2 separate regions of the Homo sapiens genome follow, and region 2 is linked to region 1. Evidence: promoter capture Hi-C in human tissues and cell types (Jung and others, 2019). All regions are on one chromosome and are shown on one strand. The core of a region is centred on a gene start or on the middle of the fragment in contact, and the rest is flanking DNA. Distances in the headings are between cores, read along the strand shown.

Region 1 (5,118 bases), core at 879-3,378:
GAAGGATGTGGAAAACCATACAAGATTTATGAATAATTCTGAGAGAGTATTTTATATAATAAAAATAAGTGGATAAATATTTTGGGAAACAATCAGCAAACTAAATACTGCGAGCAACAATAAAGATTAATCTTAAAAAAAATGTTGAGTAAAGAAGCAAGATGTAAATGAATACTTAGTACAATTCCATTCGAAGTTCAAAAACAAGCCAAACTGTAATGTGCATGTTCACATACAATGATGTGAAACATTAAGGAAAATCAAGGAAGTGGCTATCTTAGAAGTCAGGAGAGTGGCTATCTCTGGGGAGGGAAAGAAATATGTAATCTGAAAAGGTGATAAATAGTAATACCTCTAACTGCCTCTGTGTATGGAGGACTTCAAAACCAAATCGTCCTAAACAAACTAGTCTAAGCAACTCAAAAAGAAGACAGAAAAGATCTCCCAGAGAATCTCTACACCTGATTATATTCTGGGCTACAGGCAGTGATTTTTCTTCAGAAGGTAAACAGTACGCGAGATATTGTGGAAGCTGCCATTAAATAATGCCAAAGTTTAGGATTTAAAATTAATATTTAATTAATGTACCGTCCTAGTTATTTCCCACTAATTAAGACTGAAGAGTTTGGCTCATTAATCAATTAAAATACAAACAAGAATCTGTCTTATCCTGGAAGCAGATTCGAATGCGACATCCTACTTCTATAACTAACCTGTTTTTTTCTACTTACAAACCTATTGTTATTCTACTTATGTCCTTACACGTAAACAAAGTATACTTGAAATGCTGAACACCAGTACAGAAAATTTTAAACAAGGAAATCTCCTAGGATATAAGGTCCTGGAATGGAAGAAGGAAAACGTTGGGACACTATAATCTATGCAAACTTTCCCGAAGCTGCGAAAAAAAAAAAGTGAAAAAAAACCATATTTCTGTGAGTTTTTAGGTATCAAGTCCATGATCACCTAGTTATCCAATTTAAGTCTCAAATAGTTTTTCAACAAAAGCCAGCTTTCCCTGCCTTTACTGTGTATAATTTTTACTAAAATTATCTGAGATTTTCATGCAAATGCCTATGTAATCTCAGCCTTTCACCACCCCAAGTCTAGAAAGAGGCTCAGAAATGAGCGATCGGGAGTCAGGCTGAACTCCCAAATCTGTGACTTCCAAATTCCTCGGCTCCACCAGAGCTTCCAGAGCGTTTCTAAACTGAACAGTCTCCCCAACAACCAAGCGGAGAGCTGCGGGAGGACGCGAAGCAGTGACCATAGGAACTGGGCTCAAACCTAACCTCCCAAGAAACAGGGGCAACTCGTGCTGCCGAGCTTCCGGCCGGCAGCTGTGCCCGCCGCTGCCCCTCACAGCCGCTCCCGCTGCTAGCGCCCAACTCCGCCCGCCACGGCCCCGCACCCGCCACTCCTGCCCGCTTGCAGCCGCCTTCTCAGAGACCTTCCAGTCCAGTAGCAGCACTCTCCCCACCCCGCGCACCTCCGCAGCTTCTACCTGGAGCTCCGGGTCCCTCCCCGGGCTCCTCGGCCCGCCGTCCTGCCCAGAGCTCATCCCCGCGACTGTCAGCTCTCGGCCTCAGCGGGGGATACAAGAACCGCCCACTCTCCATCCTCCGCCCCTTTCTCCTCCCTTCCCACCCCCAAATCGTCCTGGCCCCGCCCCGGCGGATCGGAGGAAGGACGGAGCCCGCGGGAAGGAGGAGGGGGCGGTTAGCGCCAGCCAGTGCCGCCGTGGCCCCGCCCTCACGCTCTGTACCGGAGTGGGGCTCGTCTTCCACCTCCCCGGCGCCCCAGCTTTGCTTCCGTCCCGCTCGCCCCCAGGCCCGGTGCGCACGCGTACCTGGCTCGACCTTCCTTCTCGCGGGGTCTACAAGCCGTGCGCGCGCTCCTACGCACGGAGCGACGCGTACGTCTACCTGCCTGCCTTACAGGGCACCTAGGAGGGACCCCTTCCTGGCCCATCCGCGCCGCGCAGGCGCACGCCCACGCAGCGCCTAGACGCCCGAGCCGAGCGTCCCGTCTCCTAGTAACCAGCCGCTAGCCCCCTTTTCCACGACTCATTTCTTAATCTCTGCCTGAGGCTGCCGCACCTGGATGGAACGCGCATGCGCAAGGCTGTCTCTCGCAGCCCCGCCTTCCCTCAGCTTGAAACACCTGCTGCTTCGCGGCGGTGGCTTTGTGCCACTTTTCCCAGGGCTTGGGCATCATTCTGGACCCATGTTCGGTGAACCGGTTACTCTCAGAGCTGCTTTCGGGCGCAGCTCCTGCTGCAGCCAGGGCCCGTTTTAAGAGAGGCTTCCAGGTCCAGCCCTCCCGCTGCAGCCTGCAGGGAGCGAGCCGGCCTGTCCCGGTGAGCGTGGGCAGCCTGGAGTCAGGGGAGCCTGGGGACCACGGCCTTGGTCAGCTCTGCACGATCAGGGCTGAATCAGGAAGTGGCAGATCTAGCAACAAAGTCCAGATTCCTGACCGATATTCCTTCTCCACATGCCAGTCCTTTTCCAAATCCCCTCACCTTAAAGTGACAAATGAGCTTTTTAGTGAAAAAGAATGAGCGCTGCATTCTTCTACCAATTTTTTGGAGCCCAGAATGGGGGGGAAAAAAGTCTTCTTAATTTTTCTTAATACCTACCATGTCCCTTCTTAAATAACTCAAGAGCTTCTGGATGATAATGGTGACTTTATCTCCTTTTCCTGCAGATGACATAGACACTAGGTTTTTACAGCAATTCTCTGATGACCTTGATATGGTAGAACGCTGTGTATTTCAAGAGTAAGCTCTCGTTTGAGGAGACTAACAATTCCTGTTTTCGCCAGGTGAGTACTCATTTTTCCCCCCACAAGATATCATTGGCAGGGATAAACAACTTTTGTGTAGAACAAATTTAGTCATAAAAATACATTTAATATAAATGCCATGTTTTTCCAATGTCTTTTCATCGTGTTATTACATGGTCTCATATTTTGTCGCATTTATTTTCAGATATCATATACTTTGTAAGTATAATTAGATACCAAAAAAAATTAAGTGTCCCTGTTATTTTAGATTAAGAGGTTAGAGGACACAAGGAGCACATATCCTCGGAAATGTAATTTTTTAAATGCACAAAATAACAAACTGAGAAGTTATGTTAGAGGGAATAATGTATAATCTCATTTCCTCTTCAGATACTAAGATTATTTTGAATACATTATCTAGCATTATTAAAAACAAATAGGAAAGAATGTTCTAAGTTTAAAACTATCAGCTGGAGTTGAAGACTTCGGGGGTGGGGAGATTATTAATATAGGAAGTAGGAAAGTACTTCCCTTATAGAAAGAATAAGAAAAGTTTAAGCACTTATGTATGCCACCTAGACGGTACTGAAGATTATTTGGAAAGAATATAAGGAAATGATCATTTTAAGGCCAAAAGAGGGTGAAAAGATTTTCCTTTTTTTTCCTATCAAGAACTGTTGACTTTCTCCCCTAACCTGAGAAAGTAAAAATTTCCTTCCCTCTGTGGAAACCCAAGGGGTAGTGAGTGTCCCACCCTGCCCCAACTAAACCTTTTTTTTTTTTTTTTTTTTTTTTTTGAGACAGAGTCTCACTCTGTCGCCCAGGCTGGAGTGCAGTGGCACGATCTCGGCTCACTGCAACCTCCGCCTCCCGGGTTCATGCCATTCTCCTGCCTCAGCCTCCCAAGTAGCTAGGACTACAGGCGCCCACTACTACGCCCAGCTTTTTTTTTGTTTGTTTTTTGTTTTTTGTATTTTTAGTAGAGACAGGGTTTCACTGTGTTAGCCAGGATGGTCTTGATCTCCTGACCTCATGATCCACCCGCCTCAGCCTCCCAAAGTGCTGGGATTACAGGTGTGAGCCACTGCGCCCAGACTTTTTTTTTTTTTCCTTTTTTTTAAGACAGAGTCTCACTCTGTTGCCCTGTACCCAGGCTGGAGTGCGTTGGCATGATCTCAGCTCACTGCACCCTCCACCTTTCAGGTTGAAGCAGTTCTCCTGCCTTAGCCCCTTGAGTAGCTGGGACCACAGGTATGTGCCACCATGCCCAGCTAATTTTTGTATGTTTTTGTAGAGATGCGGTTTCACCATGTTGCCCAGGCTGGTCTTGAACTCCTGGACTCAAGTGATCCACCCACCTCAGCATCCCAAGTGCTGGGATTATATGCATGAGCCACTGTGCCTGGCCCAGGCTAAGCCTTATATAGTACCCTGTGCTTGCTCTCTCGTGACAGACACCTTCTAAGGTCTTGGTTTTCTAGTCCCTTAATTTTTCCATCATTTCAAAAGCTTCACTACAAAAACCTCTGTTATTACTATTTTTTGTTTTGTTTTCACTGTCCTCTTCCTGATCCCCTCAAAAAAAAATCTGGGACTCCAATTCCATATGTGTTAAGCCACTTGATCTTGTTCCACAGCTCACTGATGCTGTGTTCCTTTTTTTTGTTTGTTTTTTTGAGATGGAGTCTCGCTTTGTCTCCCAGGCTGGAGTGCAGTGGCGCGATCTCCGCTCACTGGAAGCTCTGCCTCGCGGCTTCACGCCATTCTCCTGCCTCAGCCTCCCGAGCAGCTGGGACTACAGGCGCCCACCACCACGCCCGGCTAATTTTTTTGTATTTTTAGTAGAGACGGGGTTTCACTGTGTTAGCCAGGATGATCTCGATCTCCTGACCTCATGACCTGCCCGCCTCGGCCTCCCAAAGTGCTGGGATTACAGGCATGAGCCACCGCGCCCGGCCTGTGTTCCGTTTTTTAAATCAGAGAGTTTCCTCCTTATGCCGAGGCCTGAAAGTTCCAGGCAATGTCCATTCATAGGGCTCACTTTATTTCCTGTTTCTCAAGGATCACTCTCCCGAACTGCCTGTTGTCCAATATCTAAAAGCCATTGCTTCATGTGTTTTGTGTTTTGATGCTGAAAGCAGGCGGGGCACGGTGGCTCATGCCTGTAATCCAGCTACTCGGGAGGCTGAGGCAGGAGACTTGCTTGAACCCGGGAGGCAGAGGTTGCGGTAAGCCGAGATCGTGCCATCGCCCTCCAGCCTGGGGGACAAGAACAAAACTCTGTCTCAAAAAAAAAAAAAAAAAAAAAAGATGCTGAAAGCATGAGGATAAGTC
Region 2 (5,118 bases), core at 1,175-3,674, 290 kb before region 1:
GGCACCTTCCTTTAGTGAATGTTATTTGCTTCTGAAAAGTACCTGGGTTTGCATCCAGTCTAGAAGCAATATTAATCAAGTTCAAGGGTTGAGGTTCTCTGAATTACCCAAATGATGCAAACTCAAGCTACAAATCTACAAAAGGGTTGGTTTACCCCTAGTTCACACCTACTCAGATTTGGTAGCTCCTTGGCTCCCCTTTATTGTAGAGAGTGTCTTCTATTAGACAGCCTACATTATACAGGCCTTGTCGTTTGATATTTGACCCTTGCTCTCACCTTCCACCCCATGAAGACATGAAAATTTCCAAGACTGGTAAATGATCTAAGGGCAAAGTGGCTTTTATACTCTGTTGTCTCTCCAGGTTGCCATTTTCCTTTTCTTTTCTTTCTTCTTCTTCTTTTTTTTTTTTTTGGAGGCAGGGTCTTGCTTGTTGCCCAGGCTGGAGTGCAGTGGCATAATCATGGCCCACTGTAGCATTAACCTCCTAGGCTCACACAATCCTCCCACCTCTGCCTCCCAAGTAGATGGGACTACAGGTGTGTGCCACCATGTCCAGCCAATTTTTAAATTTTTTTGTAGAGACAGAGTCTCACTATGCCCAAGCTGGTCTTGAACTCCTGGGCTCAAGCAATCCTCCCACCTCGGCCTCTCAGAGTGCTGGGATTACAGGTGGAAGCCGCTGTGCCTGGCCCATTTTCCTTTCAATTCTGGCCTTATTATTTCTTACTTTGAAAAATATTTTAAAGAATATTCTTATCTAGAATTTTAAATTTTAAGTGGAAGAGGGTTGGTCTGAATAACTTAAGATCACTATTTGAAAAAAAGAAAACTTAGTCCCTTTTCTTCAGTAACCTCTGTATGTATTCAGAACTAGCACTTATTGAGGTCATTTCAGGCTGATGAAATATTTATTCAAACATTTATTGTTTACAATAAGTAATAATTCAGTGTCCCATAATATGAGAAAATGTGAAACTCAATTTTTTTTCAGGGCTCATCTAAAAACCCTCACCTTATATTTGGATTTATTTGGTATCCATTGAAATGTGACAGAGGAAAAATGGTTCTAATATGAAATAATAAGAAAAAATCTATCTTTAATATCTGAAATGGAGTATTTGCTGAAATTAGTATCTGAAGCTAGTGGCTAGCAGCTAGGATTTAATATTATTGGGAGCTGTTTCTCCTGAACTATATCAAAGAAAATCACTACTGGCATTTTCAGTGTAAATAAGAGAGAGATGGAGGCCTTGGTCACCAAAATAAAGGGAGTATATGAATGGCAAATCTAGAGAAAAGGTACATTGTGGGGAGATTAATTTTTTAATGTCAATTTTACAACTCTATCAGGACATAAATAGCAATATTTGGATAACAGTAAACCAATGACATAATTGGAGAACTCTTAGAAAGTCTTATGAGATGGTGATTCATGGGCCTAGAACTCAGCTCAGCAGACAACATACTAAAGATCTCCTTCAGAACAAAAGTCATGAAGGAGAGGGATCAAAGGCTCTCTCCTGATGTAATTATTTTTTTACAGATGATCAGGCTATCAGGTACTTTGCTCAGCTTCCTACTGATGCCTTTGGATATTCTTAGATGGTGAATGAATCCATTTAGTACCTCTTCCTTTGCATTCAAGTCAGCCAAACATGGGGACATGCTTACCTCCAGAAAGGAGGAAAATGAGCTGAAAGGTCCCCGTGCTTGACACAGAAGCAGAGGAAATCTGCCCCGAGCAGCCTTAAATAATGTGCATGTGCCCCCAGTCACAGCGTGAAGGGCCTGGGGGTATCTGAGCACACTGGGAACTAAATCCCCACTTTTCATACAGAAAGCCCCAAAGGCCTGCCTCTGTCAGTCCCTCTCCCTGCCCCACAACAAAGCAAGTGCCCTCCCCAGAGCAGGGGAAGCAGGGCCTTACCTGTGCTGTCCTCCCCAAGGCCTTCTGCAGCCTCCCGAAGCTTAATGTCCATCACCCTTGTGGAAATCATGTCAAGCTCGCTGAAATTATATGGAAATTCACGTTAAAGAAACATGGTTAGCAGAAGTTACCAATGAGTGAAATGGTGTTCGTGACTGCATTTGCCATGATCTGGCCTGCACACACCCCAGCAAAGACAGTCCAGGGCAGAGTGCAGCACAGTACAGGCCAAAACCATATCCACAGCCACAAGATCAGTAACCGCATAAGCGTTTAATCACTGACTGGGGCAATTTAATGGAAAACAGATCACTGAAACAAATGCTTCACTAATTTACACACTGCAGATTAGGTTTCTTTCAAAAAAGCTTTTCTCAAATTATAAGAAATGATTTTTTTCTCTTGTTTACTACAGGAAGTTTGGAAAATAGAATGAAAATCACCCATAATCCAACCAACCAAGGATAACCACAGTTAATGTTTTCATTTCCTTCCAATAATTTTTTACGCAAATATTTTATCCACATGCACACATATCATATTAGGAAGCTTGACTTCCTGATTTTCTTACTTACACCACATCATTAAAATTATTCACGTGTTATTTTAATGGCTACCTAATATTTTGATATACTACTGTACCATTATTTATTTACATTGAAATTCTTTTTTGAATGCAATGAAAAATGTCAAACAGATACAAAAATATGAACAACATATAATGAACTCAAGGTATGGCTAATCTTGCTTCATCTTTACCCCCACACCCCATCCCACTCCTATGAGGTGATTTCTAAGCAAATCATCCCAGACATGATGATCATTTAATCCATATAAATTCAGCTGCTTCCTGAATAAAAAAATCCCTCACTCTTCATGGAAACCAAATGCATGATCACAGGTCAATATTCCTGCTACAGAATACTGAGCTAGTGGTGTCCATGCCTTCCATAACTGACTGTTACAGTATGCTCTACCTCCATATACTATCACACCATTTATTTAGAAAGCTATTTCTTACTGTTAGGTATGACGAATCCTCACACTTAAAAAGGGGGGCTTGAATATTTAACCAATTCACGTTTACCACTTGTACACAGCACAGAATGGGAAATGATGGGAGAAATGCAAAGAAAACACAAACAGAGAAAAGGATTTGCGGGTGTGTGCCCGAGTTGGCTCTAATATTTCGATTTCTTCTAATGTTCATCCTCCCTACCAGCCAATCCCTCAAAAGCTGAACAAAGTTTCACCAGCTCCAGCTCTCAATGTTCATACAATTTGGCTTCAAAAAAATGTCCGGTCTTGTGTCGGCTCTGCCAAAAACTCTTGGAACCTCACCAGATTTGACTCATGATCATGCTATCATTATCTATAAAATGAGGGTTGGACAGAAACAGTATTTTTCAAATCCTTTACCACTGTTTTAGGCTTCAAAGGACATCCTTGCTTTCATCATCTGTGTTCACATTCAAAGCAACAGACAATGCTATCAAACAGCAGAATGATAGTAGTTCTAGGCTGATGGCCCAACCCAAAGGCCCAGGTGTTCCAAAGGTCACCCCCTCAATCCCCCCTGCAATATGTTAGTCAGTCAGCAACCCCCTCATCCCCAAGAGTCCTTTAGAGGTGGTAGCTGCCGGGGATTCAATGGAAGAGGCAATGGAGAAGGAAAACATACGGTGTAAGGGGAAGAGTGAAGATGGTGAGGGTGGCCTAGGAGTCACCATCTGTTCCCCTCAGTGCCATCTCCTGAGGCTGCCACTGAGCTCTAGCTCAGTGCAAGAGTTTTCCATTGCCTGAATTTGGAGTTAACCATGGCAACTGCAAATTACTTATCAAGCATGCAGCTATCACCTGAATTATCTCATTTAATCCCCAAGAACTTTTAATATTCCCATTTTGGAGATGAGAACATTTTTAGCTCACTGCATCCTCAACCTCCTGGGCTCAAGAGATCCTCCCACCTCAGCCCCCCCACAAATAGCTGGGAACACAGGCCCACGCCACCACACTTGGCTAATTTTTTGTATTTTTTGTAGAAACGGGGTTTCGCCATGTTGGCCAGGCTGGTCTTGAACTCTTGAGCTCAAGCAATCTGCTTGCCTTGGCCTCCCAAAGTGCTTGGGATTACAGGTGTAAGCCACTGCACCCAGCAGAGAACATTTCTGATATTAAGCGGTTTATTAACTTGCCTAAGGTAGCAGAGCAGATATGGCGTCTACACTCACACTGACTGCATACCCAGCATGGGCAGGTGCTTCTGAGGCACTGGGATACAGTGACAGATGAGACCCACGTGGTTCCCACCTCTTGCAGGTGCTGACCCAGTGAAGGGCAGAGCCCTGAGCTGTCCCCAGTGGGGCTCAAGAGAAGCTGGAGAATCCAAAGGACAGGATCTCCCACTGAAATGGCTCTGCCTGCCAAGAAGCCTTACCCAGGGTCAGGCCAGAACTCAGAGGCTGGAGGAGCCCCGAGAGATCATGCACTGGGTCTGATGGGGTTTCTTCGTCTGGGGAAAGGAACCGGAGGCCACTGTGATGTGTCAGCTAACTGGGAAAGGATTAACACTCTGGAGAAACCATGATGTTACGCAACACATCAAGGTCATGTGGACACCTTGCAAATGAAAAGTGTCCTTGTTGGGAAGAACAAGGTGAGTGCCAGAGGTGTGTGTGAGAATGTGTATGAGCCCTGTGGGTGGGTGTGCAGAGGGGCACCCCCTCCTGCCAAGCCCGGATCAGTCCAGAGGCTCAGGCTTGCTTCTCCCTGGGTTGAAGGACATGGTTGTGAGAAAGCTGCACGGGGCAGAGGGTTCAGATGCAGATGTAGGCGGAGGGCCGGGGAGGGGGGAGCATGGGAGGGGATGCAGACTCACCTGTGTAGGTCCTTCCACCCTACTCTCAGCCAGAAGATGCAGACAGCACCCCCAGACCACCAAGACCACCAAGACCACCAGTGGACTCACACAAGGAGGCAAAGGTTGCCCACCGACAAAGGGACAACAAATGGATCTCATGTCACATGGAAGGTTTCAGAACCTACTCATGTTTTATGTCCCAAGCATCTTCATACAGATAAGAGCATAACATGGGGTGGAGGAAGGTGGCAAAAACTTGAATGTTAGGCAGTCCCGGGGTGGCATCTTCACCCTACCACCTACCAGTGCCAGGCCTCAGTATCCTCAT

What was found. Contacts are between HindIII fragments. The study calls those that stand out against the background at their distance.
Region 2: a contact is called between a fragment that was not itself captured here and the fragment with the promoter of C2orf15 in region 1, in 1 of the 25 tissues and cell types used here (hippocampus).

What each region holds. Positions count from the first base shown.
Region 1 is chr2:99,139,579-99,144,696 of GRCh38, forward strand. It overlaps C2orf15 (chromosome 2 open reading frame 15), which reads left to right and starts at 2,129. Exons shown (of 4, transcript NM_144706.4): 1 at 2,129-2,359; 2 at 2,707-2,823. All of the region lies in intron 1 of TSGA10 (testis specific 10), which reads right to left. RefSeq lists silencers at 1,389-1,458, 1,529-1,838 and an enhancer at 2,060-2,866. The HindIII fragment of the contact is 7,971 bases long and covers 1-5,118 here.
Region 2 is chr2:98,844,801-98,849,918 of GRCh38, forward strand. It overlaps CRACDL (CRACD like), which reads right to left. Exons shown (of 10, transcript NM_207362.3): 2 at 1,931-2,010. The coding sequence starts at 2,000. Among named protein-coding and RNA genes, the nearest start is that of LINC02611, 75 kb to the left of the region's middle. The HindIII fragment of the contact is 3,881 bases long and covers 485-4,365 here.